Linked DNA regions of Homo sapiens: all the other regions are linked to region 2. The links are contacts of gene promoters, found by promoter capture Hi-C in human tissues and cell types (Jung and others, 2019). All regions are on one chromosome and are shown on one strand. Each heading gives the region's core, a stretch centred on a gene start or on the middle of the fragment in contact. The rest is flanking DNA. Distances are from core to core; before and after follow the strand shown.

What was found. Contacts are between HindIII fragments. The study calls those that stand out against the background at their distance.
Region 1: a contact is called between the fragment with the promoter of LINGO3 here and the fragment with the promoter of LMNB2 in region 2, in 5 of the 25 tissues and cell types used here (aorta, dorsolateral prefrontal cortex, small bowel and 2 more).
Region 3: a contact is called between the fragment with the promoter of OAZ1 here and the fragment with the promoter of LMNB2 in region 2, in 1 of the 25 tissues and cell types used here (dorsolateral prefrontal cortex).
Region 4: the fragment with the promoter of AMH here is called in contact with the fragment with the promoter of LMNB2 in region 2 in 2 of the 25 tissues and cell types used here (dorsolateral prefrontal cortex and spleen).

Annotation. Positions count from the first base shown.
Region 1 is chr19:2,304,872-2,311,348 of GRCh38, reverse strand. It overlaps LINGO3 (leucine rich repeat and Ig domain containing 3), which reads left to right and starts at 3,195. Exons shown (of 2, transcript NM_001101391.3): 1 at 3,195-3,273. The HindIII fragment of the contact is 18,961 bases long and covers 1-6,477 here.
Region 2 is chr19:2,452,963-2,459,690 of GRCh38, reverse strand. It overlaps LMNB2 (lamin B2), which reads left to right and starts at 2,732. Exons shown (of 12, transcript NM_032737.4): 1 at 2,732-3,021. The coding sequence starts at 2,758. It overlaps LINC01775 (long intergenic non-protein coding RNA 1775), which reads left to right. Exons shown (of 2, transcript NR_134931.1): 2 at 591-754. RefSeq lists silencers at 2,634-2,813, 2,934-3,183, 3,244-3,333, 3,564-3,743 and enhancers at 4,004-4,712, 4,713-5,423, 5,480-6,094, 6,095-6,709. The HindIII fragment of the contact is 70,551 bases long and covers 1-6,728 here.
Region 3 is chr19:2,264,999-2,272,261 of GRCh38, reverse strand. OAZ1 (ornithine decarboxylase antizyme 1) reads right to left here and starts at 2,776. Exons shown (of 5, transcript NM_004152.3): 1 at 2,518-2,776; 2 at 732-877; 3 at 308-480. The coding sequence starts at 2,663. It overlaps LOC105372240 (a long non-coding RNA gene), which reads left to right and starts at 3,009. Exons shown (of 2, transcript XR_936242.3): 1 at 3,009-3,160; 2 at 3,390-3,769. RefSeq lists silencers at 935-1,274, 1,285-1,484, 1,695-1,754, 2,720-3,209 and enhancers at 2,463-3,077, 5,573-5,742. The HindIII fragment of the contact is 6,913 bases long and covers 1,524-7,263 here.
Region 4 is chr19:2,243,836-2,250,572 of GRCh38, reverse strand. It overlaps AMH (anti-Mullerian hormone), which reads right to left and starts at 1,250. Exons shown (of 5, transcript NM_000479.5): 1 at 829-1,250; 2 at 94-236. The coding sequence starts at 1,240. It overlaps SF3A2 (splicing factor 3a subunit 2), which reads right to left. Exons shown (of 9, transcript NM_007165.5): 3 at 5,958-6,029; 4 at 5,794-5,840; 5 at 5,018-5,127; 6 at 3,771-3,820; 7 at 3,551-3,691; 8 at 2,911-2,979; 9 at 1,918-2,806. The coding sequence ends at 2,027. RefSeq lists promoters at 1,241-1,272, 1,241-1,450, 1,241-1,520, 1,272-3,306, 1,241-4,239 and enhancers at 1,168-1,307, 3,362-3,863, 3,162-4,239, 4,493-4,993, 6,658-6,737. The HindIII fragment of the contact is 11,600 bases long and covers 1-6,737 here.

The DNA.
Region 1 (6,477 bases), core at 1,946-4,445, 150 kb after region 2:
TTGGGGAGGCCAAGAAGAGAAGATCACATTAGGCCAGGAGTTCAAGACCAGCCTGGGCAACTTAGTGAGACCCCATCTCTACAAAAAATAAAAAAATTAGCCAGGTGTGTTGCCACTCACTTGCAGTCCCAGCTTCTCGGGAGGCTGGGGTAGGAGGATCACTTGAGCCCAGGGGGTTCAAGGCTGCAGTGAGCTATGACTGCGCCACTGCACTCCAGCCTGGGTGACAGAGCGAAACCCTGTCTTAAAAAAGGCTGGGGCCGGGCTCGGTGGCTCACGCCTGTAATCCCAGCACTTTGGGAGGCTGAGGCGGGCCGATCATGAGGTCAGGAGATTGACACCATCCTGGCTAACATGGTGAAACCCTGTCTCTACTAAAAATACAAAAAAAAATTAGCCGGGCCTGGTGGCGGGTGCCTGTGGTCCCAGCTACTCGGGAGGCTGAGTCAGGAGAATGGCGTGAACCCGGGCGGTGGGGCTTGCAGTGAGCCGAGATCGCGCCACTGCACTCCAGCCTGGGCAACCGACAGGGTGAGACTCCATCTCAAAAAAAAAAAAAAAAAAGAAGAGAGGGTAGAGCTTGCACTGGACCCATCAGCAAATTACTGGACATCTTAGCAGGCATGTGCCACGCAGGGAGAGATGGAAGGTCGGGGTGGAGACGCGAGTGAAGAGGGGGAAAGGGGCGGGCAGAGGTCTGGGGGAAGGGCGTTCTAGGCAGAGGGAGCAGCCCGTGCTCAGGCCCTGCAGTAGGAGCCTGGCCCAATCTCCACCCCCAAGGGCTCGGGAGCACTGGCCACAAACCGGGCAGAACCACTGCAGAGTCTCTGCAGCCCCGGGAGAAGATGGGAACTGTTCCGATCTCCATTTTGCAGAGGTGGAGACCGAGGCTAGAGGGACATCCCCCACGGTTACACAGGCAGGGCCTCGACTGGACCCCAGCTGGCATCCCTCACCCTCCAGGACTCATAGCAAGTGTCTCCTCCTCCGGGAAGCCTCCCTGGCCCCTGGCTTCGGTCCGGGACCCGGTGTCACTACTGCCTCTTCCACGCCGCTTTGTGACGATTTCATATTTCAGGCATCTGCTCCCTCTGTCCGAAGAAATCCCCCTTGAGGCTGGAAGCGTCTCCTCCTCCTCCCTCCAGCCCTTGGCCTGGTATACAGTAGGTGCTCAATGAACACCTTCCTCCAAGAGCCCTGAGAGCCAGCTATCAGGAGCATCACTTTACAGAGAAAGAAACACGTTCAGAGAGAGAAGGAGACCTCCCCTACTGGGGTCACACAGCACAGCAGCCCAGGGCCATTTGGTGGGGAGAGCATGGGGTGTCATGAAGTCCTTCTGGACCTCTCTGGGGCCAGGAATTGAACCATACCCGCCCCCCACAGCATCCTGTGGGGGGCCTGGCCTGCAGCCTCCCAGGGATGCGGTTTCTGGGCCTCCAGCCAACGCGACAGTCTGGGAACAGAGCCTGCTTGAGTCACAGGTGGCTGCGTGAGTGCCAGGCCACCGCCAAAGCCACTGGGAATACACAGCTGGTGGGGAGGACTGCAGAGTGGGTGAAGGGGGCAGACAGGGCAAGGTTACACACACAGGTTCCCGAGGCCTCCTTCTCACCCCTCACTTGGGACAAATGGCATCTCCCAGCCTTGGTTTGCTCATCTGTGAGACAGGGAGGCTAAATGTGGCTTTTAGAAGATGCAGTGAGGGGCCGGGCATAGTAGCTCACGTCTGTCATCCCAGCACTTTGGGAGGCCGAGGCGGGTGGATCACCTGAGGTCAGGAGTTCGAGACCAGCCTGGCCAACATGGTGAAACTCTATCTCCCCTAAAAATACAAAAATTAGCCAGGCATGGTCATGGGCGCCTGTAATCCCAGCTACTTGGGAGACTGAGACAGGAGAATCGCCTGAACCCGGGAGGTGGAAGTTGCAGTGAGCCAAGATTGCACCACTGCACTCCAGAATGGGTGACGAGAGCAAAACTCCATTTCAAAAAAAAAAAAAAAAAAAAAAGACAAAAAAAAAGGTAAAAAACTTTCCATGAGCACTCGCAGTGCACTTGGTGTGTGCGCTGCTGTGTGCTAGGCGGAAGGCACATTGGGGAACAAGCCCATTAGACAAACTGAGAGGCTCCAAGCTGCTCGATGGAGGGACAGAGAGAAAGGCTGTCCAAGCTGGGCACAGCGAAGATCAAAGGCCTGGGACTGGAGGGACTTGGCCTGTTTGAGGAAGGCTGAGGGGGTGGAGCCCGGGAAAGAGTGAGTGAGGACAGGCCAGGGGGAAGGAGGTGGTGCGGCAGACCAAACAGTGCAGGCAGCCGGGCGGTGGCTCACACCTGTCATCCCAGCACTTTGGGAGGCCGAGGTGGGTGGATCACCCGAGGTCAGGGGTTTGAGACCAGCCTGGCCAACATGCTGAAAATCCGTCTCTAATAAAAATACAAAAATTAGCCGGGCGTGGTGGCGGGTGCCTGTAATCCCAGCTACTTGGGAGGCTGAGGCAGGAGAATCGCTTGAACCCAGGAGGCGGAGGTTGCAGTGAGCCAAGATGGCACCGCTGTACTCCAGCCTGGGCAACAGAGCAAGACTCCATCTCAAAAAAAAAAAGAAAGAAAGAAAGAAAGAAAGAACGAAAGAAAGAGAAATTCCAGGGTAGGTGGGGTGCAGACGGGACCCTCACGGCAATAGGGAATCACGGCAGGTTCTGGAGCCCAGTGGCTAAGCTTCCTCTGAGGGGCTTCCTCTGAGGGCCACATAAGGAATGGGCCTGGGCTGGGCTGTGGCAGATGTCCAGGTGCAGATGGTGGCGGCCTGGACTAGGGGTGGGGGACGGGGGGCAGAGGAGGCGATGGTAGCTTCCAGAAGGTTCCACACGGAACAACCTGCTGCACTTGGGGTGCCCCTGCGTTTATTGCACGGCACGGCCGTCTCCGCAGGCTCACCCAGGCCGTGGGGACAGGAGGTCCTCGGACACGAAGCGCCCGGGATGCGCACGGAGGGGTTCTGCACCCGCGCTCCCAGTGTCCCCGCACCTGCGCCCACGTGGCCTCTCACACCTGCGGCCCCAGCCGCCGCGCACGCGGCCCAGCGCAGCCCCCGCGCGCCCCCGCCAGGCGCGCCGAGGAGACCGGCGGGCGGTTGCGCGCGGCGGCGGCGCGCACGGCGGAGCCCGGGAGGCGGCGGCGGCGGCGGCGGCGGCGGCGGCGGCTGCTCGTGTCGGCTCCGGGCGGCCCCCGCGCCGCAGCCCGCGCCGTGTCCGCGGCGGAGCCGCCCAGGTGAGTGGCCGTGCCGGGGCCCGGCGTGGGGCGCGCCCGCAGACCTGGGGACCCCTCACCTGCACCCTGCGACCCTGCCGCCCAAAGCCCCCAACCCGCGACCCCATCCTCAGCCGGGGGAAATTGCCCCGCGCACCCCTCCCGGGCTCATCGCTCCTTGCCAGGCCCCCGACGCTCCCCCTGGAAACTTTGGGGGCGAACTCCCCACCCTGGGGCCCCCCGCCCCTCCTCTGGGGCGCCAAGGAGCGGGGAATCGGGTGGGCATCTCCCCGGGGCACTGGGGACGCTGGGAGGATGCGCTCCTCTCCAGGAGGAGATGAAGGGGGCACTGGTTGGGTCTGGGGTGTGGGGAACGTCCGAATAGAGCCTGCAGCCCGCGCCTTCCTGCCCTGTCTCCCCCGAGCCGGGTCTGGTCCAGCCTGGGGGTGCGGAGCTGGAAGACGCAAAGGGTATCTGGGGTCCACACCGGAGCCTGCTCCATCGCTGGAGCTGACGGCCCGGCCTGGCGGGGAGGGACCTGGGGGCATAGGGCTGAGTCCCCCTGCTCTGGGGGCGTCTGAATAGCACCAGAAATGGTGGGCCTGGGCACCCTGAGTGGGTGCCGCCACCTCCCGGGCCTCTGGGGCCTGGCCAGGGGAGGCCCTGAGTCCCATTCAACAAGTTTAGGGGAGCAGCACCTCGTGCCTTGGTCCGGGCACAAGAAAAGCCCCGGGTCCTTACGCTGGAGACCACCATGTAACTGGGTTTCTCAACGTGTGCTTGGGGCGCTAACGGTGCCGGTGTCCCGGCCCCCCCAGTTCTGAGGAGTCAGAACTTCTGAGGCGATGTGCCCCAGAAGCTGCATTTTAGCAAGCGGTCCCTGGCTAAACCATGGACGCAGCGAGGCTGCAGACACCCTTGCTCCGGCGGGGGTGGGGAGCGGGCGTCTGCTGTGCAGTGGTATTTGCAGAGGGACGATCTGGGGCTTGGCTGGGGGGAGCCTTCAGGGACAACAGAGCTGTGAGAACCAGAGCAACCCAGGAGGGCTCCCTGGAAGTGGCCTGGAGAGGATGCAGAAGGTGTGAGGTGTGAGTGGTCAGGTGGAGGACGCAGGCTGGAAACAGGTTCAGGGAGGGTGGTGCTGGCTTTATCAGGAGGCTGGTGTGGGGTGGGCTGCCGCGGCATGGCCTTACCCTGGCTGTTCTCTGAGCCGAAGCAGCAGCCATCGTCGGAGACAGGATCTGAGTGGGAAGAACCCACGGGCTTCCCCTGTAGACCCAGCTCCTGTCCCCATCTCGATGATGTGGGGTGGCAGGAAGGGGGCAGCCGGGCGGTGGGATGGGGGCTTAGGAGGGTTCAACTCAGCCTTCCCTGCCCTGCCTGTCTGGTCTTCACCGGTGACTTCCGGCAAATGACGTCCCCTCTCTCAGATCCACCCCACATGGGATTAAATGAGATGCTGCCCACCTCGGCTGCAGTGTGGTGCCACCATAAAACAGATGCTCAGGTCACGATGGTTACGGCAGCAGCCCTGCCTGGCCTCCCTCAGCCTCAGCCGTCCACCCCCAGGGTAAGCCGGGACCTGAAGGTGCCTTGCTGAGTGGGAATAGAAGGCAGTTTGATGTCTCTTCCCACAGCACTGTCATTCCCCGGCGCCCCCTGAGTCACTACCTCGTCACCAGGTAGAGCCTCTTGAAGAACTCTGCGAGCAAAGTTGGCCCCGGGTGGGCCCCATCAAGCCGCCCACCACCACATGTCAATCTCGGGCCTCCAAAGAGCGCCCTTCACCCTCTAGTGGGGAGCTGGGATTTTGTGGGTAGGAGCTGGCGTCAGATCCAGGTTCAAATGCTGACTGTCTGCAGCTAAGTTGTGCAGTGAGCTGGGGCCCACTCTGACCCTCAGTCTCCTTCTCTCCAAAACGAACTTTATTATTCCCCCTAGTCAGGGCTGGGCTAGTGGGTGAAGTGGCCGGTGTAGACAGTGGGTGCTCCAAAACTGGTTCCAGATCCAGAGGCCCTGCCTGCAGAGGGCAGTCCACGGCCCCCCGTGTACAGGCTGGGAAGGAAAGTGGGTCGGGAGGCCCCCAGCCCCTCGAGGGGTTGACGGGGACTAACAGCAGATGGAAGCTAATTAGGGCTTAATGAATTGTCATGGATGAAGCCCCGGGAGGGCCTGGATCTAGGGCAGAGGATGCAGGGGTCCTGGGGGACTGGCAGCGTGTCCCCAAAAGCAGACCTTGGAGGGCCACGTGCTGTGAGGGGCTGGGCCCCCTCCTCCCATATCCGTCTTAGAAGCTCAAACGGGGCATCCAGAGCACACTCCCCTTACTCCCACCGCCCTGGTTGTGGTGGGGGGCAGAGGGAGGGAGATGGAGGTCACTGTGGGCCTGGAAACAGAGGGGACCGCTACCACACTTCTCACTCCTGCCCCCTCTGGGTTTGGCCGGCCTCTAGGAGGGCCTTTCCCAAGGGAGATGTCAGCATCCCTTGCCCTGGGCGGGGACTGGAGGGGGATGTGTTTGAGGTAACCTTGCAAGAGGGAGGGGAAGAGCCCTGCTCAGAATAGAGGAGGCGGATTGGAAGGGCCGGGGGCTTAGCCAGGAGCTGAGGGAAGGAGCTGCCCACACCACCAGGCACCAAGAGGGTAGGGCCACCTCTGTTCTAGGGAGGGACCCCGGCCACTCACAGCCACACTCTGCCTTCTCCTTGAGCTAAGAGCTTCCAGGACCATTAATCCAGGATCCATATCTAAGGACAGCTGGGGGTACAGGGAAGAGAGGCCTCCATTGCCCAGGTCCTGCTGTGGGGGACAGTTTTGGGGAGGGGGTCCTCAAGGCCGGTGCCTGCACCGTGGTTGGTGCAGATCTCAGACCCCAAGGAGAGGTCAATGTCCCCTGCCTTCCACGCCCCAGAAGGCAGGTGCACAGATCCGGGAGGCCTCGAGCGACCTCCCTCTTCAAGACTGCAATGACCCTGATGAGTTCTGGCTGCTGTGACAGCAGTGGCTGGGAACCACACACATTTATTATTGCACCGTTCTGGAGGCCAGAGTCCAAAATGGGCCTCACTGGCGTAAAACCAGGGCATGAGGCTGGGTGTGGTGGCTCACGCTTGTAGTCTGAGCATTTTGGAAGGCCGAGGCAGGCAGATCACTGGAGATCAGGAGTTCGAGACCAGCCTGGCCAACATGGTGAAACCCCATCTCTACTGAAAATACAAAAAATTA
Region 2 (6,728 bases), core at 1,483-3,982:
GGAGACCGAGGATGCTGCTCAATACCCTGTAATGGACAGCACCTCCTGACTCCAACCCCCTGCAACAGAGAGTGATCTGGCCCCAAATATCTAGTGCAGAGTTGGAGAAACACTGCTGTATAGGTTGTCTTGTTAAATTACAATTTTGGGGGGTTTTTTTTGGAGACGGAGTCTTGCTCTGTCGCCCAGGCTGGAGTGCAGTGGTGTGATCTCAGCTCACTGCAACCTTTGCCTCCTGGGTTCAAGCGATTCTCGTGCCTCAGCCTCCCAAGTAGCTGGGATTACAGGCGTACACCACCACGCCTGGCTAATTTTTGTACTTTTTGGAGAGACAGGTTTTTGCCATTTTGGCCAGGCTGGTCTCGAACTCCTGGCCTCAGGTGGTCTGCCCGCCTCGGCCTCCCAAAGTGCTGAGATTACAGGCATGAGCCACCGCGCCTGGCCTTGTTAAATAAAATGTATGGCAGGCCATTGTTTTAGACAATGGGGTCTCTAGTCCCCAGCAGACCAGATAAAATTGGAATGGAGTCACTAGTGCCAGGTACCACGTAGTCAAACTGATCTTTTATTTTTTTTATTTTTTGAAATAGGGTCTCGCTCCGTTGCCCACACTGGAGTGCAGTGGCGCAATCATGGCTGACTGCAGACTTGAACTCCTGGATGCAAGCCATTCTCCTGCCTCAGCCTCCCGAGGAGCTGGGACTACAGGTGTGTGCCAGCACATGTGGCTAATTATTAAAAATTTTTTTGGCTGGGTGCCGTGGCTCACGCCTGTAACTGCAGCACTTTGGGAGGTCGAGGTGGGTGGATCACGAGGTCAGGAGTTCAGGACCAGCCTGGCCAAGATGGTGAAACCAGGTCTCTACTAAAAATACAAACATTAGCTGGGCATGGTGGCGGGTGCCTGTAATCCCAGCTACTCGGGAGGCAGAGAATTGCTTGAACCCAGGAGGTGGAGGTTGCAGTGAGCCGAGATCATGCCATTGCACTCCAGCCTGGGTGACAAGAGCAAGACTCTGTCTCCAAAAAAAAAAAATTTTTTTTTTTGGAGACAGAGTCTCACTATGTTGCCCAGGATGTTCTCAAACTCCTAGGCTTAAGCGATCTCCCCATCTCAGCCTCCCAAAGTGCTGAGATTACAGGTGAGAGCCACCCGTACCTGGCCTCAAACTGAACTTTAAAGGGTGCAGGTTTTCAAAAAAAAACATTCACAGCCACCAAGCCAAAGGGGACCGGTTAACCTGATAGGGAAGTACCCTCAAAATAGAGGGGGTTAAAACAGACCCTATGAAAAAAGTAACTTTGAAACAACCAATTGGTTTTTATTTCGTATTTTTATTTTTACTTTTTTTGAGACAAACTCTCACTCTGTCACCCAGGCTGGAATGCAGTGATGTGATCAGGGCTCACTGCAACCTTGACCTCTCTTGCTCAAACAATCCTGCCACCTTAGCCTCCCAAATACCTAGGACTATAGGCGCCCAGCTAATTTTTTTTTTTTTTTTTTTTTGAGGTGGAGTCTTACTCTGTTGCCTAGGCTGGAGTGCAGTGGTTCAATCTTGGCTCCCTGCAACCTCCGCCTCCCGGGTTAAAGCAATTCTCCTGCCTCAGCTTCCCGAGTAGCTGAGACTACAGGCATGTGCCACCATGCCTGGCTAATTTTTGTATTTTTAGTAGAGACGGGATTTCACCATATTGGTCAGGCTGGTCTCGAACTCCTGACCTCATGATCTGCCCGGCTTGGCCTCCTAAAGTGCTGGGAATACAGGTGTGAGCCACTGCACCTGGCTAATTTTTTTATTTTTATTTTTAGAAATGGGGTCTTGCTATGTTGCCCAGGCCAGTCTCAAACTCCTGGGCTCAGGCTATCCTCCCACCTCCGCCTCCCAAAGTGCTGGCATTACAGGCGTGAGCAAACCACTGTACCTGGCCTGGCTTTTATTTTAATTCTTATTTCTCCTTTCTTCAGCCTTTTCTGCCTGTAATGCAGAATGCCCATCCTCTCTGCTCAGCTCATTGGAGTGCCTATTTAATAGATTGAATGCTATCCAATTCATGAATTGCTAATAAGAGCCAATGAGATCATTAAACTCAATTTGTTGAAATTCATACTCCTTGACAGCCTCTTCTGGACATTTTATATCAGTGGCATTGTACACTATATGGCTTTTTTTTTTTTTTTTTTTTTTTTTTGAGACAAAGTTTCTCATTGTTGCCCAGGCTGGAGTGCAGTGCCGCGATCTTGGCTTACTGCAACCTCCACGTCCCAAGTTCAAGAGATTCTCCTGCCTCAGCCTCCCAAGTAGCTGGGATTACCGGCGCGCGCCTCCGTAGTAGAGATGGTGTGGGGGGGTCTCCCTATGTGGTCCAGGCTGATCTCGAAATTCTTTTCTCAAGTGATCCACCGGCCTTGGCCTCCCAAAGTGCTGGGATTACAGGCGTGAGCCACCACGCCCGGCCCTATATGGCCTTTTGTGTCTGGTTCTTTGAACACGTTTTGAGGTTCTCTAAGTGGGGAAACAGGTACTAGAAAGCAACCCAACGCTGTTTCCTCGTGGCGGAGCTGGGAGTTTGCAGCCAGGAAGTCTGTCTCTGGAGTCAGCGCCTCTGCGAAGCGAGAGCTGGACGGAGACTTCAACTTCCGGCGTGCCCCGCGCGCGCCCGGCGGTCGGACTACCAGTCCCAGGCTGCCCCGCCGCGGCGGGCGGCGGGCGCGGCGCGGCGCGGCGCCATCTTGCAGCCGGCGGCGCGGATTGAATGAGCCCGCCGAGCCCGGGCCGCCGTCGGGAGCAGCGCAGGCCGCGAGCCGCCGCCACCATGGCCACGCCGCTGCCCGGCCGCGCGGGCGGGCCCGCCACGCCGCTGTCGCCCACGCGCCTGTCGCGGCTGCAGGAGAAGGAGGAGCTGCGCGAGCTCAACGACCGCCTGGCGCACTACATCGACCGCGTCCGCGCGCTGGAGCTGGAGAACGACCGGCTCCTGCTCAAGATCTCAGAGAAGGAGGAGGTGACCACGCGCGAGGTGGGCGCCGGGGCTTAGGGGCCGGGCGGGGGTGCAGCCGGCAGGCCCCGCCCACCGCGGGGCGCGCGATCGCGGGGACCCTGGGCGGGGGTGCAGACGGGGACGGGCCCCGGCTTCGGGGGTTTCCGCGGGGTTTCGGGGGGCCCCTGAGTGAGGGGTGCAGCTCGGCCAGGTCCCTCCCACCGCGGGGTGGGCAATCGCTGGGACCCTGGGTGCAGACAGGGACGGGCCCGGGTCTCGAGGGTCTCCAGGGGGTTTCGAGGGGCCCCTGAGTGAGCGGTGCAGTTCGGCCAGGCCCCGCCCACCGCGGGGTGCGTGATCGCGGGGACCCTGGGCGGGGGTGCAGACGGGGACAGGCTCCGGCTCGGGGGTCTCCAGGAGGTTTGGGGGCTTCTGAGTGAGGGGTGCTGCTCGGCTAGGCCCAGCCCACTGCGGGGCTCCCAGTCGCGGGGAACCCTGAGCTGGGATGCAGACGGGGACAGTCCGGCCTCGGGGATCTCCGCCGCGTTTCGGAGAGTCCCTGAGTGAAAGGTGCTACTCGGCCAGGCCCCGCCCACCACGGGGCGCGCGATCGCGGGGGACTCTGAACGACTCCCGGCTTGGGGTCTCCAGGGGGTTTGCGGGGGGCTCCTGGATGAAGGGTGCAGGTCCTGGCCACCGCGGGGTGCGCGATCGCGGGGACCCTGGGCAGGGGTGCAGACCGGGAAGGGTCCCGGCTTGGGGGTCTCCAGGGGGTTTCAAGGGGTCCCTGAGTGAGGGGTGCAGCTCGGCCAGGCCCAGCCCACCGCGGAGTACGCGATCACGGGGGACCCTGAGCAGGGGTGGGGTCAGCCTGGCCTCGGGGATCTCCAGGGGGAGACCCTGAGTGAGGGGTGCCACCTGGGCAGGCCCTGCCCACCGCAGTTTCCGAGATCTTGGGGGACCCCTTGGGAGGGGTGCAGACCGGAGTGGCCCATTCTCTTGGGGACCTCCAGGGGGTTTCTAGGGCACTGAGTGAAAAGTGCAGACCAGGAATGCCCCACCTATGGAGGGGGTCCCAGGAGATCTTCCGTGTCCTGAGTGAGGGCTGCAGAGGGGCCTCCAGCTAGCTCTGGGGACCCTTCCGTGAGAGGTGCATTTTGGGGCCATGGGGGTTACAGACTAGGGCTCCCCACCAAAGAGAGGTCCTGGGGATTTGGGGGCTCCCTGAGTATTGGGCTGCAGCCCCCCATATGCCTCGTCCCTCAGAGGATTCCAAGGAGACTTGGCGGACCCCCCCCAACTGAGGGGGTGTGAGTGGGAGTCTCTGGGGATGAAGCTGGGTATTGGGGTATCTGGGGTGGAATGGGGGTGGTCTCTGGGCTCCAAGGAGACTGGGGGGCCCAGGCCCTCTGAGGAGGCCCAAGATGGGGTGTGTGGGGGGTCTCCCTGGAGTCTCTGGGGTGAGTCACGTGGTCTCAGTTCTCCCTGGAGCTTTAGCGAGTTCCCTGATGAATCCAGAAGAGATTGGTGACTGGGGTGGGAATTAGGCCCCTCATCTCTCACCAGGCCCAGGGTGGGTAGGGGGCCGAGGGAGAGGTTCTGATACCTTGGGGTCCCACGGGAAATTTGGGAGTCCCTTATTTGTGCCCTGGTGTCAGCGGTGGTCTGGCAGGTTCTGCCCCCAAGAGAATATGAAGGAAGGGTGAGAGTTGGGATCTTGGGTCCGGTGGAAAGTGTTGAGGTTCTGAATGGGCCCCGAGGCTTCAGTGCAGACTGAAGGAGAAGAGGCGGGAAAGTCTGCCCACCAAGGGGACATGAGGTCGGGGTGTCTTGGGGTCTGGGTGCAATCTGTCCTGCCCCCCAACCTAACCCTGGGGAGGCTCTTTGTCCCTCCCACTGGCCATGCCCAATCCAAGGACAGGACTCCAGAACGGGGGGCAGGCAGGAGCACCCACTTGATTCCTGCCATGGGTTGGGGTCCTGGGGTCCCTAGGCCCCAGTGTCCTGTTGGGAGAGCTGGGTGCCGAAGTCGGGATTTGCAGCGCCCAGTCCCCACTCGCCCATCTGGAGATCAGAGGACGTGGTGGGCTTCTGGGAGAAGAGCTGCTTGTTGAGGGGGTCGGGTCATTTCTGGGAGCCACTTACCCTCTGTGTGACCTTGGGCTAGTCGCTTACCCTCTCTGGGTCTCAGTGCCCTCGCCTTTGGAATGGGTGTAATTATAATACCCACCTCTTACTTGTGTGTGGGGCCACAGCAGGTTAACTTTTGTTCAGTAGCTCCCTGTGGGTTGTTTTCACAGTGCCCTGGGGACAGGGAACCTGAAAGAATGTAGCTGGTGCCTTCAGGGAGGTAGAAGGAAGATCAGTGCTTGGTGGGATCCCCTGCTTTTCTTTCTTTTTTTTTTTTTTTTTTTTTGAGATAGAGTCTCGCTCCGTCGTCCAGGCTGGAGTGCAGTGGCGCGATCTTAGCTCCCCGCACCCTCTGCCTCCCGGGTTCAAGTGATTCTCCTGCCCCCGTCTCCCGAGTAGCTGGGATTACAGGTGTTCACCACCATGCCCGGCTCATTTTTGTATTTTTAGTAGAGACAGAGTTTGGCCTTGTTGGTCAGGCTGGTCTCAAACTCCTGGCCTCAGGTGATCTGCCTGCCTCGGCCTCCCAAAGTACTGGGATTACAGGTGTGAGCCGCCGTGCCTGGCCAGTCCCCTGCTTTTCAATTAGTGTGGCTTTGGGCAGGCCCCTGTGTCTCTTGGAGCCTCCATCTTGCCATCTGTCCAGTGCGGAGTTGTCCCAACTTAGAGGCCGCCTGCTGGACCCGTGGCGTGCAGGGTTAGAGCTGGTTTCTTGTCTTTGGGCCTCTGTTATCCCACCTGCCAATGGGACGAACAGCTGCAGGGAGCTTTGAGGGTGCAGGGCCTGGTGAGTGCTGGGGAGGTACCAGCCCCAGCCCCACTGGACGCCCCATTGGACCGGCCCTGTGCCCTAGAGGGAGCCTGGCCCAGCCACCTCTCGGGGCCGCAGCAGCATCCTTTACAACTCAGTTCACTCAGGCTGGGTGAAATGCGGGTCTGACTCCAGTGAAGGCAGCCATTTAGCAGGTGACACACTGGCCCCTCCGTGAGCCCTGTCACCCAGCCGTGTCTGCAGGGCATGTGGCAGGGGACAGCTGGGAGTTCCGCCTGCGACTAGTGGGCCAGGAACCCGGCTAGTGGGGAGCAGAGTTGGAAGCCTGCTGGGGTGGGGGCCGCTGGTGGGGGGACGTCATGTGGGCCCACATGGAGGGAGTGACCTGGAATAGCTGGGGGCCTTCTAGACACAGGTGGGCCACGTGGGGTTCAGAGAGCAGCCTCAGGCTCAGGCTGGCAGGATGGGGGCAGGGGAGGGAGCTCTGAACGAGGAGGGACCTGGGGTGTCAGGCCTAAGAGCATGCAGGTCACCTGGACAGCAGGGCCTCTCTCACCTGGCCAGCTTCTGCCCCCAGGGGACTCTTGGCCAAGGCTGGGCATGCCCTTGGTTGTCACATTGGGAGGGAGACGGCATCGGCACAGCGTGGGTGGAGGCTGGGTACTGCTCAGCGCCCCGAGAAGAGAATCACCTGGCCCCCACGAGGATGACGCAGCCCTCACGAGGATGACCCAGCCCCATGAGGATGACCCAGCCCCCACGAGGATGACCCAGCCCCCACGAGGATGACCCAGCCCCCATTAGGATGACCCAGCCCCCATTAGGATGACCCATCCCCCATTAG
Region 3 (7,263 bases), core at 1,527-4,026, 190 kb after region 2:
TGAACCCGGAAGGCAGAGGTTGCAGTGAGCCAAGATCATGCCACTGCACTCCAGCCTGGGCAACAAAAGCAAGACTCCATCTCAAAAAAAAAAAAAAGGGGGGACCCTGTCCCCACCAACAAAGCGATGGTGGCCCCCATATGTGCTGCCTGAAGGCAGTGCCCTCCCTCATCTGTCCCTGCACCCCTTGGGCAGCAACCCGCACCTGGTCCCTGCTCCCCTGGGTGAGCACTCCCCGCCTGTCCTTGCCCCTCACCTGGTCCCTGCTCCCCTGGGTGAGCACTCCCTGCCTGTCCTTGCCCCTCACCTGTCCTTGCTCCCCTCGGGCAGCGCGCCGCCCGGGATCTCGATGTAGAGGCTGCCGCCACTCAGCACTGTTCGCCAGTTAATGCGTTTGGCGTCTGTGAGCCTGGACTGGACGTTGAGAATCCTCGTCTTGTCGTTGGACGTTAGTTCCTCTGTTACATTCAGCCGATCATCCTGTCCAGGGGGTGCAGCCCAATTCAGAACCCTGACTCACCCCACAGGACTCCAAGAACCCGGCAGCGCTAAAGCTTGGGCCTAGGCCGTGTTGAGCTCAGGCAACGCCTGGGCTGCAGGAGACTGTGCGCCGGCTCTGATGAAACTCAGGGTTCCCACGATTACATTCAATCACAGGTACGGGCAGCAAGGTGCACAAGAAAGTACCTGTGGCCCCAGAGCAGCCCCAGCAGGCCCGGCCCCATACTCACGGAGTAGAATAAGTTAGCTGAAAGATTGTGATCCCTCTGACTATTCCCTCGCCCACCTGGGATCTTCAGGGGTGGGTGAGGGGCATCAGGAGCACCACCGAGGCCCCGGACCCGGGTTACTACAGCAGTGGAGGGAGACCCTGGAACTGAAGATGATGCAGGTCACGAGGCAGCGCCAGGCTCCGGGCGGAGACCCCTCCAGGGCGTCCGGGCGGCCTTCAGCACATCCCCACCCCTGCCTCGGCCAAAAGACCCCGCCCCGCCCAGGCAGGGGCCCACCCGGTCCCACACCCCCGAGGCTTCCCGAAGGCAGCTCCAACGCCTGCCCCAAGCACCTACAAGGGCAGCAGTCACTGAGCCCCGACTCCTCGGGCGGCGCCGCCCAGGACAGCCCAACCTTCCCAGGGCGGGGGGCCCCTTCCCCTCACGCAGCCCCGCCGGGGCAGAGCCTCACCCCCCGGCCACCAAGACAGCCAGCGCTTCCCCTTTTCAGTTCTGTCGCGGCTTCCCCTTTCCACCCTGCACTACGGCCAAAATCTGGGACTCTTGCTTGTCCCCGCGAAGACCGGGCGGGCCTAGCCTGACCTCATGGAGGACGCGCCCCGCTCCGGCTCCCGGCCGCCCGCCCCCCCGCCCCCGCTCCAGGCCCGGGCCCTCCCGGTTGCGTCATCCAGGCAGACGCGGCCTCGCGCCCCGGGGGAGATTTTCACAATCGCGCAGCCGGCAGCGCCAGCAGCCATTTGCTGCGCAGGGTAAACAGGCCCCAAAGTTGCCTCCATTTTGCACGGCCCCCAAACCGCGGCACCGCCAGCACCGCGGCCCAACCTCCCGATCCGGGGCTGAGCGACGCCCACCTCGGGGGACGCAGTCGGGAAAGCTCGACCGAGACCCCGCGGGCTCCCCCACAACCGCAGCTGGCACCCGCGCCCCCGGAAGCGGGACGCGTCTTCCCGGGAAGCGGCGGGGGTCTTCCCAGGGCGCTGCCGGGCTGTCGGAGTGCGCCACCCCCAGCTCCCCGGCGGCCCCCGCGGAGAAGCCCTGGGTGCCGTCTACGTGCGCGGCCTCGCCCGGCGCGTCCCGGGCCATCCAGACCGACTCGCTCAGGGGCGAAAAACGGGGCCCACGAGGTCCGTCGCGTGCAGGGGCCACATCGAGGCAACAGGGACCCGCGGGAGCTCGTCCACCGCAAAGCGCTCCCCGCTCCCGCAGCGCACGCTCGACGGCCGGGACCGAAAAGTGCAGATTCACCAGCCCCGCGGGCCCTGCCTGTCCGCGGACCAGCCCCCCAAGGCCGACCCCGCCCCCAACCAGATTGCCCCATCCTGCGCCTCCCAAATCCGACCCGACCGCACACCCTTCCTCCAAACCGAATTCCCAGTCTGCGCCCCGCAAATCCAACCCTCGACCAGAAGCCTCTCCCCTCCTCCGAAGCCGAGTCCCATCCCGCGAACCCCGCAAAAGACACACGCCTCCCCCGACTCCCCGTCCTGCGCCCAAATCCGACCTCCGACCCATGCCCCTCCCGCAAATCAGGCGCCCCGGACGGTGCCCCCCAAATCCAACTCCGCACCCTTGCCCCCCAAACCCGACTCCCCCGAGAGCACTGCTAAGGCCGGGGGGGACCTCCAGGCCCGCCCTGCGCCTACCTCGTCCCCGGCGCGATTCTGGCCTTGACAAAGGGGCGGATCTCGCGCGCCGGGGACCTATCTGGCGCCCCGAGGACGGCCCCCCGCAGGCCTGCGCGGCCGGCGCTTCTGGAAGCTTCGGACGGGGGCGGGGCACTTACCTCTCACTGCTGCTGCCGCCGCGGCTGTGCAGGCTTAGGAGCGGCATGGTGCGGCTGGCGTGGATGGTGGCGCTGGGTTTATCCCCTTCCTTCTCTCTGGCGAAGCAGTGGCTATTGAGGATCCGCTGCAGGGAGGATTTCACCATCCGGCCGCTGGGGTCCGAAACCAGGAAAACCTCCGCTGCGTCTCTCCGCGCCGCCGCCGCTGCTCGCCGTTCGCAAAATGGCGCCTCTGCCGCCGCCCGCCTTTATAGATGCTGCGCCCAGGCCACGCCCCCCGCGCCGCCGGGAACGCGACCGCACGAGGGGCAGAGCCGCGGGGCCGCCGGGAAAAAAAGTCGCGCCCGCCCCTCCCAGCGCCTGATTGGTGAAAGGGAAAGGGAAAGGAAGAGGCTCTCTGGAGATTGGTTGGTGAGCCTCGGGCCACGCCCCCTCCTGCGCGCGTCCTTCTGGGGGCGGGGCTGCCGTGGCGCCGGGTACGCGCTGCGCGCGCCCCGAGCCGTCCCCGCCCCCACAATCGTGCCTTGGGGGCGGGGGCGGCTCGCTGGGGCCGATTTTCGGGGGTCTTCGAGTGCCCGTTTGTCTGTCGTGGTCCACGTCGCCCTCCCTAGGGTCCCTTCACGCAGCGGGACCCCTCCCCTGGGTAGGCCCCCGGGTGCTTGGGGGGTTGTCCAACCGCGCCAGAATTATTTCCAGTAACACCTGGTAATCATCGATGATATTACTGGTTTTATTTTTTTAAATTTGGTCTTGCAGTTCTTAAAATGCTTCCAGTGTTTAAAAAAAAAGAACTTCCAATGTTAAAGATATTCAAATTTAGTAAAATATTTCGTGTACAATTTGGACTTAAGCAAAAATTTTACTCCTTGCAGATAAATTCAGATTTTTCCTGTGGAAACTGAAACTTACCCTAAGGAAAAACACTACTCCTGGCAGTTAAAATTCAGAAACACATCTCATGTATGAACTAAAATGTGGATCTCCCAAGGAAAAAACGATTTCTTTGGTGGTCAAGTTCGGTAAACTGTTTCGCCTGTGAGGTAAAATGTGGACTTACCTAGCAAAAATATTTCCCCTCCTGGTTAAATCCAGAAAAAAAATCTCAGGTATGAACTGCACTTTGCTTTTAATAAGCAAAGATATAACTCTTGGCAGTCACATACGGGTACATAGCTTGTGTGTAGACTAAATTATGAATTTAGCAAAAAGTTGCCACTTTGCAGTGAGGTTTAATAAAATATTTTTTATTTCATGTATAAACAAAATTTTGTTCTTACCAAGCAAAAATGCTACTCCTGGCAAATCCTGATTCCTTTCATGGTTTTAATTTTGTTTTGTTTGCGACCGGGCCTGGCTGTCACCCAGGCTGGAGTGCAGTGGCGCAATCTCGGCTCGCTGCAACCTCCGCCTCCCAGGTTCAAGCGATTCTCCTGCTTCAGCCTCCTGAGGAGCTGGGATTACAGGTGCCCGCCACCACGCCCGGCTAATTTTTGTATTTTTAGTAGAGATGGGGTTTCACCATGTTGGCAAGGCTGGTCTGGAACTCCTGACCTCAGGTGATCCGCCTGCCTCGACCTCCCAAAGTTTGGGGATTAACAGGCGTGAGCCACCGCGCCTGCCTGTCTTTCGAGATTTCGTACTGCACCAGAAGGCTGTTGTTGCATCTCTGCTACGAGCATTCGCTATTCAGGTGTTGAGGCAGAAATTAACTCCTGCGGTTGACATTTGGGGCCGCCCTGGGCACTGCAGGGCGCTGAGCAGCGTCCCTGGCCTCCACCCACTCCATGCCTTGAGCACCCCCAGTTGTGACAACCACAAGTATCCGCAGACATCACCCAGTGTCCCTTGGCGGGGGCAGAATCACCCTGGGTGAGACTCCCGAGTTAGGGGATTCCACGGACCCCCCCAAGAGACTCTGCATCCCATGATCCTCTGCCCTGCTGAGGTCCCAGGAGACTGCGCACGTTGAAATCCACACCTTGAGGCAGAGGTTGCAGTGAGCTGAGATGGCGCCGCTGCACTCCAGCCTGGTGACAGAGCGAGACTCTGTCACAAAAAAAACAAAAAAAAAGCAATCCACACCCTGAGTGGGGAAGGAGAGAGGAGAAGCATCCCAGGAGCTGGGGGCCTCCTGGTTTATACCGTTTGCCCCATTAGGAGTTTATCCTGAGGCTGGGCACGGTGGCTCACGCCTGTAATCCCAGCACTTTGGGAGGCCGAGGCGGGTGGATCACGAGGTCAGGAGTGCAAGACCAGTCTGGCCAACATGGTGAAACCCCGTCTCTACTAAAAATACAAAAATTAGCTGGGCATGGTGGCGCGTGCCTGTAATCCCAGCTACTCAGGGGGCTGAGGCAGGAGAATTGCTTGAACTGGCACCCGGGAGGTGGAGGTTGCAGTGAGCCAAGATTGCACCACTACACTCCAGCCTGGGCTACAGAGCGAGACTCCATCTCAAAAAAAAGGAGTTTATTCTGGTGTCTGGTGTGAGCAGAGAACAGACTCTGTTTCAAATAATTAACTCAGGGTCTCCTCCCTCGGACCCGTGGACATTGGGCTTGGATTGTTCTCTGGGGTGGGGCATCCTGGGCAAATGGTATGAACCAGGAGGGCCCCAGCTCCTGGGATGCTTCTCCTCTCTCCTTCCCCACTCAGGGTGTGGATTGCTTTTTTTTTTGTTTTTTTGTTTTTTGAGACGGAGTCTCGCTCTGTTGCCAGGCTGGACTGCAGCGTCCTGGGCACTGCAGGGTACTGAGCAGCGTCCCTGGCCTCCACCCACTCCATGCCAGGAGCACTCCAAGTCATGACAACCAGAAATGTCCCAAACATCATCCAATGTCCCTTGGGGGCAGAATGACGCCCCTAAGTTGAGGACCTCCTCTGGGAACAGAGGCAAGAGCCTGCTCGAAATGAACAGGTCACCGGTGCGATTTCCAGAACAGCCACGACCAGGGAGCCCCATCCCTCCATCCTGACTGCAGCAGCTCTCACTTCCTCCTCCTGCCTGCCTCTGATGGCCGCCTGCCAATGCTGTGAGGCTTCTAGAAGGGCCACCCCCACACTGGCCAGGCCACGTGGGATGAGCGCTAGGATCAGCAACTGCGCCCTGCTGGCCCACCTGGCCGGGTTCCCCAGAAACTCCCCAGGGTGGGAGGTGCTTTGCTGGGAGCTGGGGAGTCTGTGACTGGTGAGGGGCCTCCCGGACAGCAGGGAGAGAAAGAGGCATATCTTTCTCTGGAGGTGGTGAGGCTTGAACTGTCTGAAAGGGACAGCAGAGGATGTGGGGTGGTCAAGGATAGAGGGCCCATGCCTGGGTTTTCTTCTGAAATCAAGGTTGAGGGGATACGGCTGCTGGCAGAGGACGCAGAGAGTATGACTCTGATTGATTGATTGATGGACTGATTTTTTTTTTTTTTTTTTGAGACAGAGTCTCACCTGTAGCCCAGGCTGGAGTGCAGTGGCGTAACCTTGGCTCACTGCAACCTCCACCTACAGGGTTCAAGCGATTCTCCTGCCTCAGCCTCCCGAGAAGCTGGGACTACAGGCGTGCACCACCATTCCCGGCTAATTTTTGTGTTTAGTGGAGACAGGGTTTCACCATATTGGCCAGGACGGTCTCAAACTCCTGACTTCATGATCTACGTGCCTCCCAAAGTGCTGGGATTACAGGTGTGCCACCGCACCTGGCTGTTTGGTTTTTGAGACAGAGTCTCACTTTGTCACCAGGCTGGAGTTCAGGGTCATGATCTCGGCGGCTCACTGCAACCTCCCCTTCCCAGGTTCAAGTGATTCTCCTGCCTCGGCCTCCCAAGTAGTTGGGAATTACAGGCTCACGCCACCAGGCCCAGTTAATTTTGGTATTTTTAGTAGAGACGGGATTTCACCATATTGGTCAGGCTGGTCTCGAACTCCTGAACTCAGGTGATCCACCCATCTCACCCTTCCAAAGTGCTGGGATTACAGGCGTGAGCCACCGCACCCGGCTGACTCTGATTTAAAAGAGGGTATGTGGGCCCGGTGTGCACTTTGGGAGGCAGAGGCAAGAGGATCGCTTGAGCTCAGGAGTTCAAGACCAGCCAGGGCTACATAGCCAGACCCCATCTCTGCAGCAAATTTAAAAATTAGGGACATGGTGGTGCACACCTGTAGTTCCAGCTACTCCAGCGGCTGAGGCAGGAGGATCCCCTGAGCCAGGAAGGTCAAGGCTGCAGTGAACTATGGTCTCTCAACTGCACTGCAGCCTGGGTGACAGAGGGAGACCTTGTCTCTAAAAGAATTATAATAATGAGTTAAATAAAATAAAATGTAAACAGGTAAAAATAAAGAAGGATTGGGGCCGCGCACAGTGGCTCACGCCTGTAATCCCAGCACTTTGGGAGGCTGAAGCAAGAAGATCGCTTGAGCCCAGGAGTTGCAGACCAGCCTGGCCAACATAGCAAGACCCTATCTCTAGGTTCTCACTTTGTTGAGAATTTTAAAAACTTCTAGAAATTTTAAAAAATTAAAAAAATTTTAATTAGCTGGGATTGGGTGGGCATCTGTGATCCCAGCTACTTGGGAGGCTGAACCAAGAGGATCACTTGAGCCCAGGAGGTCAAGGCTGCAGTGAGCTGTGATCACACCACTGCACTCCAGCCTGGGGGACAGAGCAAGACACTGTCTCAAAAAAAAATGAAAGCAAGCAGGAAAATGGCCAAGCGTGGTGGCTCACGCCTGTAATCCCAGCACTTTGAGAGGCCAAGGCAG
Region 4 (6,737 bases), core at 1-2,500, 210 kb after region 2:
CTGGTTCTACGCTGTTCTCAGTACTGCAGACCCTGCAACAAATCCATGCCCCCCGCCACGGCCCGGGCACTGCCCCATGCAACTCCCTGGTACCTGGGCACCCGGCAGCCCAGCCCTCGTCACAGTGACCTCAGGGCCAGGCCCAGGGTACAGCACCAGCAGCGCCAGCTCTGGGGGGCCAGCTCCTCCAGGCGGGGGCTCCTGGAACCTCAGCGAGGGTGTTGGCTCCCAGGTCACTGCAGCCGGGACAGCAGGGGACGCCTGAGCCATTGAAGGCCACACCCCCCGGGAATCTTTGGGATCTGTCCCTGCCGCTCTGGCCACTGTGCAGGGGACCTCAAGCGGGGGACAAGGGTGCCCCTCTTAGCTGCCTTCCTGCAGCCAGGGAGCGGTGACGGCAGGGGCAGGCAGGGGCTGCGTCTGAGGCTGTGGGTGGGGCTGCCGCCCTGGGGTCTCTGGGTTGGGGTGCCCGATGAAGCCCCTTCCCCGCAGGGAGTATCTTAGGCCAGCGGCCCTGAGAACAGGCTGGGGCTGTGGGAAGAAGGGTTCCACTGGCCCCGAGCCCTGCGTCGTCTTCAGGGGTGGGGAGAAGGCAGCAGCTCTCTCCCTGGCACCGAGGCAGGGGCAAGTCTAAGAGCTGGGCTTCGGGGACAGGACAGAGTGTGGTGCCCACCTTCCAGGCCACGGACCCGCAACCCAGTCCTAGGAACAAGACCACAGCCTCCCTGCCCAGGGTGGGGGCTCTGCCAGCCCCTGATCTTCCCTAGGAGGACCCGGCCCACCTGAAGGAAGACGGCGGTGCCAAGCTTGGGGCTGGGCCCCACATACCTTCCTCCAGGTGTAGGACCACCAGGCGCTGCCCCCCAGGGTCCCGCAGCCAGGCCCCCAGCCGCCGTAGAGAGGGCAAGGCAGCCTGCCTGTCACCGGTGTTGCAGACCCCGAAGGTGGCCAGGTCTCGGGGGCCCCAGCGGGCCCTCTGCACGGCCCCCAGGAAGGCCTGCTCATAGGCGCTTAGAGCCCCCACCACCCGCAGGGGGGAGCTGCTGCCATTGCTGTCCCCGCCCAGTGCCACCAGGCACAGAGGCTCTTGTGGGCTGCCTGGAGGCCAGTCCAAGTCTTCTCGGAAGATGAGGCCACTGGTGCCCACAGCTGGCTCCTCTGCTCTGAGGGCCTCAGTCCCCAGCAGAGCCCCCAGGGCAGACAGCACTAGGGCCAGGCTGGTGAGAGGCAGGTCCCGCATCGTGGGTGCTGCCAGGGGCTGGGCTGCCTGCCTTAAGTGAGCCGAGTGGAAGGTGGGGTGTTTGTGCAGGACAGACCCCTATCTCCTCTGCCGCGACCTTGGGGGACAGTGCCCGGCGCCCCCACTCCAGGCAGAGTGGCCTTCTCAAAGAGCCCTTTCTGTCCCTGGCAGCCTATCTCCCTCCCCAGTGATAGAGCTGGGCCTGATGTGTCAACATGCCGTCCTTGAGGGCCATCCCCAGAAGACACAGGAGTGGGAACCAGGCTGGGAGTGACGGCCAGGCAACCAAACTAGACAGCGCTGGGGGCGGGGGGCCCAGATGTCCTGGGTGCTGAGGTGTGGGCCTGGAGGAGGAGGGTCCCAAGTCAGTGGGGGCGCCCTGTCCCTGCTCACCCTCCCCACCCCTGGTGGGCTATCTGGAGACCCCAAGGATATCGTGGAGTCTGCTCTTCCCTCCCCAGAACAGGACCCCAGATCCCCTCCTAGCTGGCTGGTGGGGTCTGTCCTCCACCAGGCCATCTCCAAGGTACAGCCATCTCTCAGGCCTCCCACAGGTGTCTCCTGGCGGGCCCCAGGCCCTCCCCAGTCGGCCCAAACTGGGGGATGGTGCTGTGCCTGGCACTCCCACACACACTGACACAGTAGGGCGGCGCTGCGGACATCAGTGCACTCAGGGCTGGGGGAGGCTGTTTAATGAGCGGGGGGCAGTACAAAAGAGCAGCCTTCTCTCAGTGGGAAAAGGCAAGAGCACCTGGCGCTGGGCTTGCTGGGGGAGGGAGCAGCTTCTCAGTTGGTTGGGGGAGGGGGAGGTATGTTCCCTGGGCCTTCGGAGGGAAGTGGGGGCCTCAGCATTGGGGGCATGGGAGTTGGGGGGTGCACCCCAGGATTTGAGGGGTGAACTCCCGGAGGCTGAGGGTGGACCCCAGGAGCCGACGGATGGACCCCGGGAGGTTGGGGGTGGACCCCCGGGGCCTGAGGGTGCATCCCTGGGGCTGGTGGGTGCACCCCTGGGGCCTGAGGGTGAACGGCGGGGGCTGCTGGGTGCACCCCCGGGGCCTGGGGGTGAACCCCCGCTGATGGGGGAGGATGGACCCCTGGGGCTGGTGGGTGAACCCCAGGGGCTGGTGGGTGGACTCCGGGGGCTGGTGGGTGAACCCCGGGGGCTGGAGGGTGGACTCCAGGAGCTGGGGGGTGGACCCCAGAGGTTGGTGGGTGGACCCCAGGGGCTGGGGGATGGACGCCAGGAGCTGGGGGGTGGACGCCAGGAGCTGGGGGATGGACCCCAGATGCAGGGGGATGCACCACTGGGGCCGGGGGGTGGACCCCTGGAGCTGGCGGGGGTAGCTGGGGTGGTCCCGGGGGCCCTGAGGGCGCAGGCCCTGTGGGGGGCATGGGTGGCAGAGGCAGGCCTCCTGGCGGGGGCGGTGGCAAAGACTCAGGCAGCGGTGGCCGAGGGGGCAGACCGTTCATCAGCGGGGGTGGAGGCCGCTTCACCCCAGGGGGGCCAGCAGGGAGGCTGGGTGGAGCCGGGGGCTTCTCCATCTTAAAGTGGAACTGGAGGAAGAACTAGAGAGACGGAGAAAGGTTCAGCAGGCACGGGTGGGGCTAGGGCAGGGCTAGGGCCGCCAGGGCTGGGTGGGAAGGAGCCAGGCTCGGGGCGAGCCACTCACCTGCTTGGTCTCCCGGTTCCAGTGTGTCCAGAACTTGCCCTCCGCCTTGTCGATCTCTCTGCTCGGCACCTGGGAGGGCGGGGGACAGAGAGGGCTCCTGGTCCCTGTGACCTCAGGGCGACCATCAGGCAGGGAGCCCGAGGCACTAGCCTCCCCAGCCCGGACTCTACCCTGGGAGCCCAGGAGAAGGCTGGTAAGACTTTCGTGGGGCACAGGGTTCAGTTCTGGAGTGAAACAGACCTGGCCTCAATGCTAGCACGCTGTTGGCCCCCTCCCTGGGCAGTCACCGTTTGTATTATTTGTTTCCTGATGGCCGCCCTGTCCAGGCATGGGGACAGGCTGTAGGAAGCCCTCCAGCAGCCTGGCCCAGGAAGTGAGGTCACTTGGCAAAGGCCTCACAGGCCTGGCGCTCAGCCCTGCCGGCCTCCCTTCTCATTGGCCCAGTGGAGCCCAAGCAGGCCCTCCTGCAGAGCCCAATGGGAGAGGTGCCCTGCCCGGCCTGTGCAGACCCTTCTGGCTCCGACTTGGGGGGGGCCCAGGGGACCCCAAGCCCGATGGGAGGGGCATCCTGCCCAGCCTATGCAGATCCTTCTGGCTTGCACATCTCAAGGGGGCCCAGGGAACCCCGCAGCCACGCTACCTTGAAGGCAATGGTCTCGTAGGGCTCGGCGGCCATGAGCAGGTACTGCCAGCGCCGGTCCGGAGGCTCGATCCTCTGCTCGTACGCAGACATGAAGCGGTGACGTGGCATGATGCCCTCGGCGATCTCAGGGTAGTCAATCTGCAGGGACACGGCCGGGTGGCAGAGCCGCCTCTTGGGTGCCTTTGGCCGCCCCCCACGCCCAAGTCCCTGATCTCACCTGGAAGAGGAGGCTCTGCTGGCCCATCTCCGAGTCTCTCTGCTTGGTCACTGCAACACAGAAAGCTCTCAGGTCCCGGCTGCTTGTCCTCTCCGAAGCTGAGGAACCTGGGGCAGGCTAATGCCACCCACTGAACGAGAGCGGGACCCCGGGGGAGGCCCTGCAGCTCTGGCAACCATTAGACAATCTCCGCCCAGGCTCTGGGATTCTGGTATAGGTGAAGGCACAGGTGCGCCAGAGCTGAGCTACCTGCGGAGTCACTCAGGCAGGGACCGAGGATGGTGCTCCTTTGTCCCAATCCCCAGAGCCCTTCACCAGGGGTGCTGGGATACCACCCAGCAGGAGTTGGGGCCACTGGGTAGGGAGGGGCCCTCGGCACCCTGGCTCTGGGATTCGAGCGGGGCCGCCTGAACAGGGCTGACACCATGTATACGGTGAGCGAGAGAGGATGCCCTTCCCGCCAGAGCTCAGCAGCCTGGACCCCGAGAATGGCTGCTGGGCTGCCTGCCGCCCGGCCACTCTCCATGCGGCCTCAGACACGCACACTCACAAGCCCTCTGCCGCCTCACCGTCCTGAGCCCAAGCCCAGGACCTGTCAGGGCCTCCCCACCAGGAGCCTGCCGCTCTAGCCACCCTCGCCCACCCGGTGCACCTGCCCCGGGACCTCTGCCCTGCAGGCTTCTGTCTGGAGGCCAGGCACACAGGCTGTCCCCGCCTTCTGTAAAGAACACTTGCTGGGTAGCGTGCCCGCCTTCCTGAACCCTATGGACACAAGTCTCTATCTTCCACCCTGGTCACTTCCCCAGCTTTCTGAACCGGGGTCACCTCTAGCCATTCCCACTGCTGAGGGTCCGGGAGGAGCTGCCTCTAACAGCCGCTTCTCCCTGTCCTCCTTCAAAGGCTTCAAGGTTAACCGGAGGGATGTGCCAGGGCTCACCACACCTCCACTTCCACTCTTTTGCTTGGCAAGAATTCCCAGAAGCTTCCACAAGACCCGGACAGGAGGGCACAGACTGTGGCTCAGCTGGGAAATGGGCTGCTGGGTGAGATGGGTGCTTATCGGGCCCAGCCTGACAGCTCCCAGACACAACGCCAGAGGCTGCAGGTGGGTGAGGGACGGCCACCAAGGCCGGAAAACAGTGGCTCAGGGAGGAGGCTATCAGGGCTGCACCTCCCGCACTGGAGACTAAAGAACACACTTATGTCACGGCAGCGGCTGTGGCCGGCCCCGCTGCGGGCAGACTCACCTTTGTAGCCCGGGCGGCCGATCTTCACAAACTTCTTCACCTCCACCTTGACCTTCTCAGGCGCGGGCTGGGCAGGGGCCTCCTTGGCCTCCTTGGCTGCTCGCCGGGCCCTGCGGACAGGATGGAGGTGCTGCTGGGACCCCTCCACACACAGGCACCAAAGCCATGGGCCCAGGTGCCAGGAGCCCCCTGACCTTGGAGCTCACTACAAGCTGAGAGATGAGGAGGGCCAGGGGCCTGGGAGGGGCCCTGGGGTTTGGCTGAGGACAGGGATAGGACAGGCATGTTCTCTTCCTGTCATGCTCCTCACTGTCCCTGGCTGGGGCCCTTCCAACAACTCCATGCCTCTGCTCTTTTTTTTTTTTTTTAATAAGACAAGAGTCTCACTCTGTCGCCCAGGATGGAGTACAGTGGCAGCACCTTGGTTCACTGCAATCTCTGCCTCCCAGATTCAAGATTCTCCTGCCTCAGCCTCCATAGTAGCTGTGATTACAGACGTGTGCCACCATGCCTGGCCTAATTTTTGTATTTTTAGTAGAGATGGAGTTTCACAATGTTGGCCAGGCTGGTCTCGAACTCCTGACCTCAAGTGATCTGCCCGCCTCAGCCATCCATGCCTCTGTTCTCTAATGCTCCCCAGGAACCGTACTCAAGCGCCCAGGGAGGCTCAGGCCAGGCTGGCTCCCCGGCTGTGGAGCAGTGGCCCGCGAGGCTCACAGAGACTTGAGCCAACGGCTGCTGGAGCACCAGGCATCAAAGGGACATGAGGTACTCACAGGTTGGTCTGGTGCTTCTTCCCCTGCGTATGTGCCAGGTAGCTCCCCTGGAGTGGAAAGGAAACACGCATGACTCGAGGCCGGGCGGACAGACACAGGCAGGTCCCCCTGACGTCAGCCACTCAGCCCGCCGCGAGCCGCCCGGAGCCAGGCAGAGGCCGCACCTCATTGTTGTGAAGTGTCAGGCAGAGTTTGCATTCATAGGAGCCCAGGTGGTTCTTCATGAAGTACGGGTCCTGGAGGGGAAGAACAGGGGCCCGTTAGACAGAAGATCGCGGCCTGCTGCCGTCAAGGCCCTCAGAGGCGGGATCCCCTTTCTGTAGAGGCATGGAGGCAGAACCCCCCTTCTGTAGAGGCATGGCTACCGCTGACAGTGGTCAAGCATTTCTGAAAACGGGGGATCCAGCGGGAGGCCTTCGTGAGCACGGGTGTCACCACCTGGGGCTGTGGGCCAGGCTTCGAGCAGTGGGGGTTCCCAGGGAGCCCCCGACACCACCTTCCTGGTGGTTCTGAGTCAGAGGGAGGCACAGCCAGGACAGCACCGCCGGTCACTCCCGAGGCAGGGAGCCGTCCACTGCCCACGCCACCACGCCAGCAGTAGGCACAAGGCAGACACAGGCACAAGAAAAGCAAATGGGCTACACTGAAGACCCAAAGACCCGCCCATCTGCAGGCCCTAAGCTGGGGCAGCCGGGCGCACACATCTCGTCTCAGACGCTGGAGTTCAAAGTCTAACTCCACCATCTGCGGCTGTGGCACCCCCTCTACCCATGACCTCATCTGGAAGACGGGGACGGTAACAGAGCCCTTGCCATAGGCCAGGCCCGTGGGGCATGTCAGGGTACACAAAGAGTGCTCCAGCCCCGATGTCCACGGTGCTGAGGGGACTCGGCTCACCCCTGCCTCTGCACAAGCTAAAATCAAAGGCTGCCCTTCACCACATC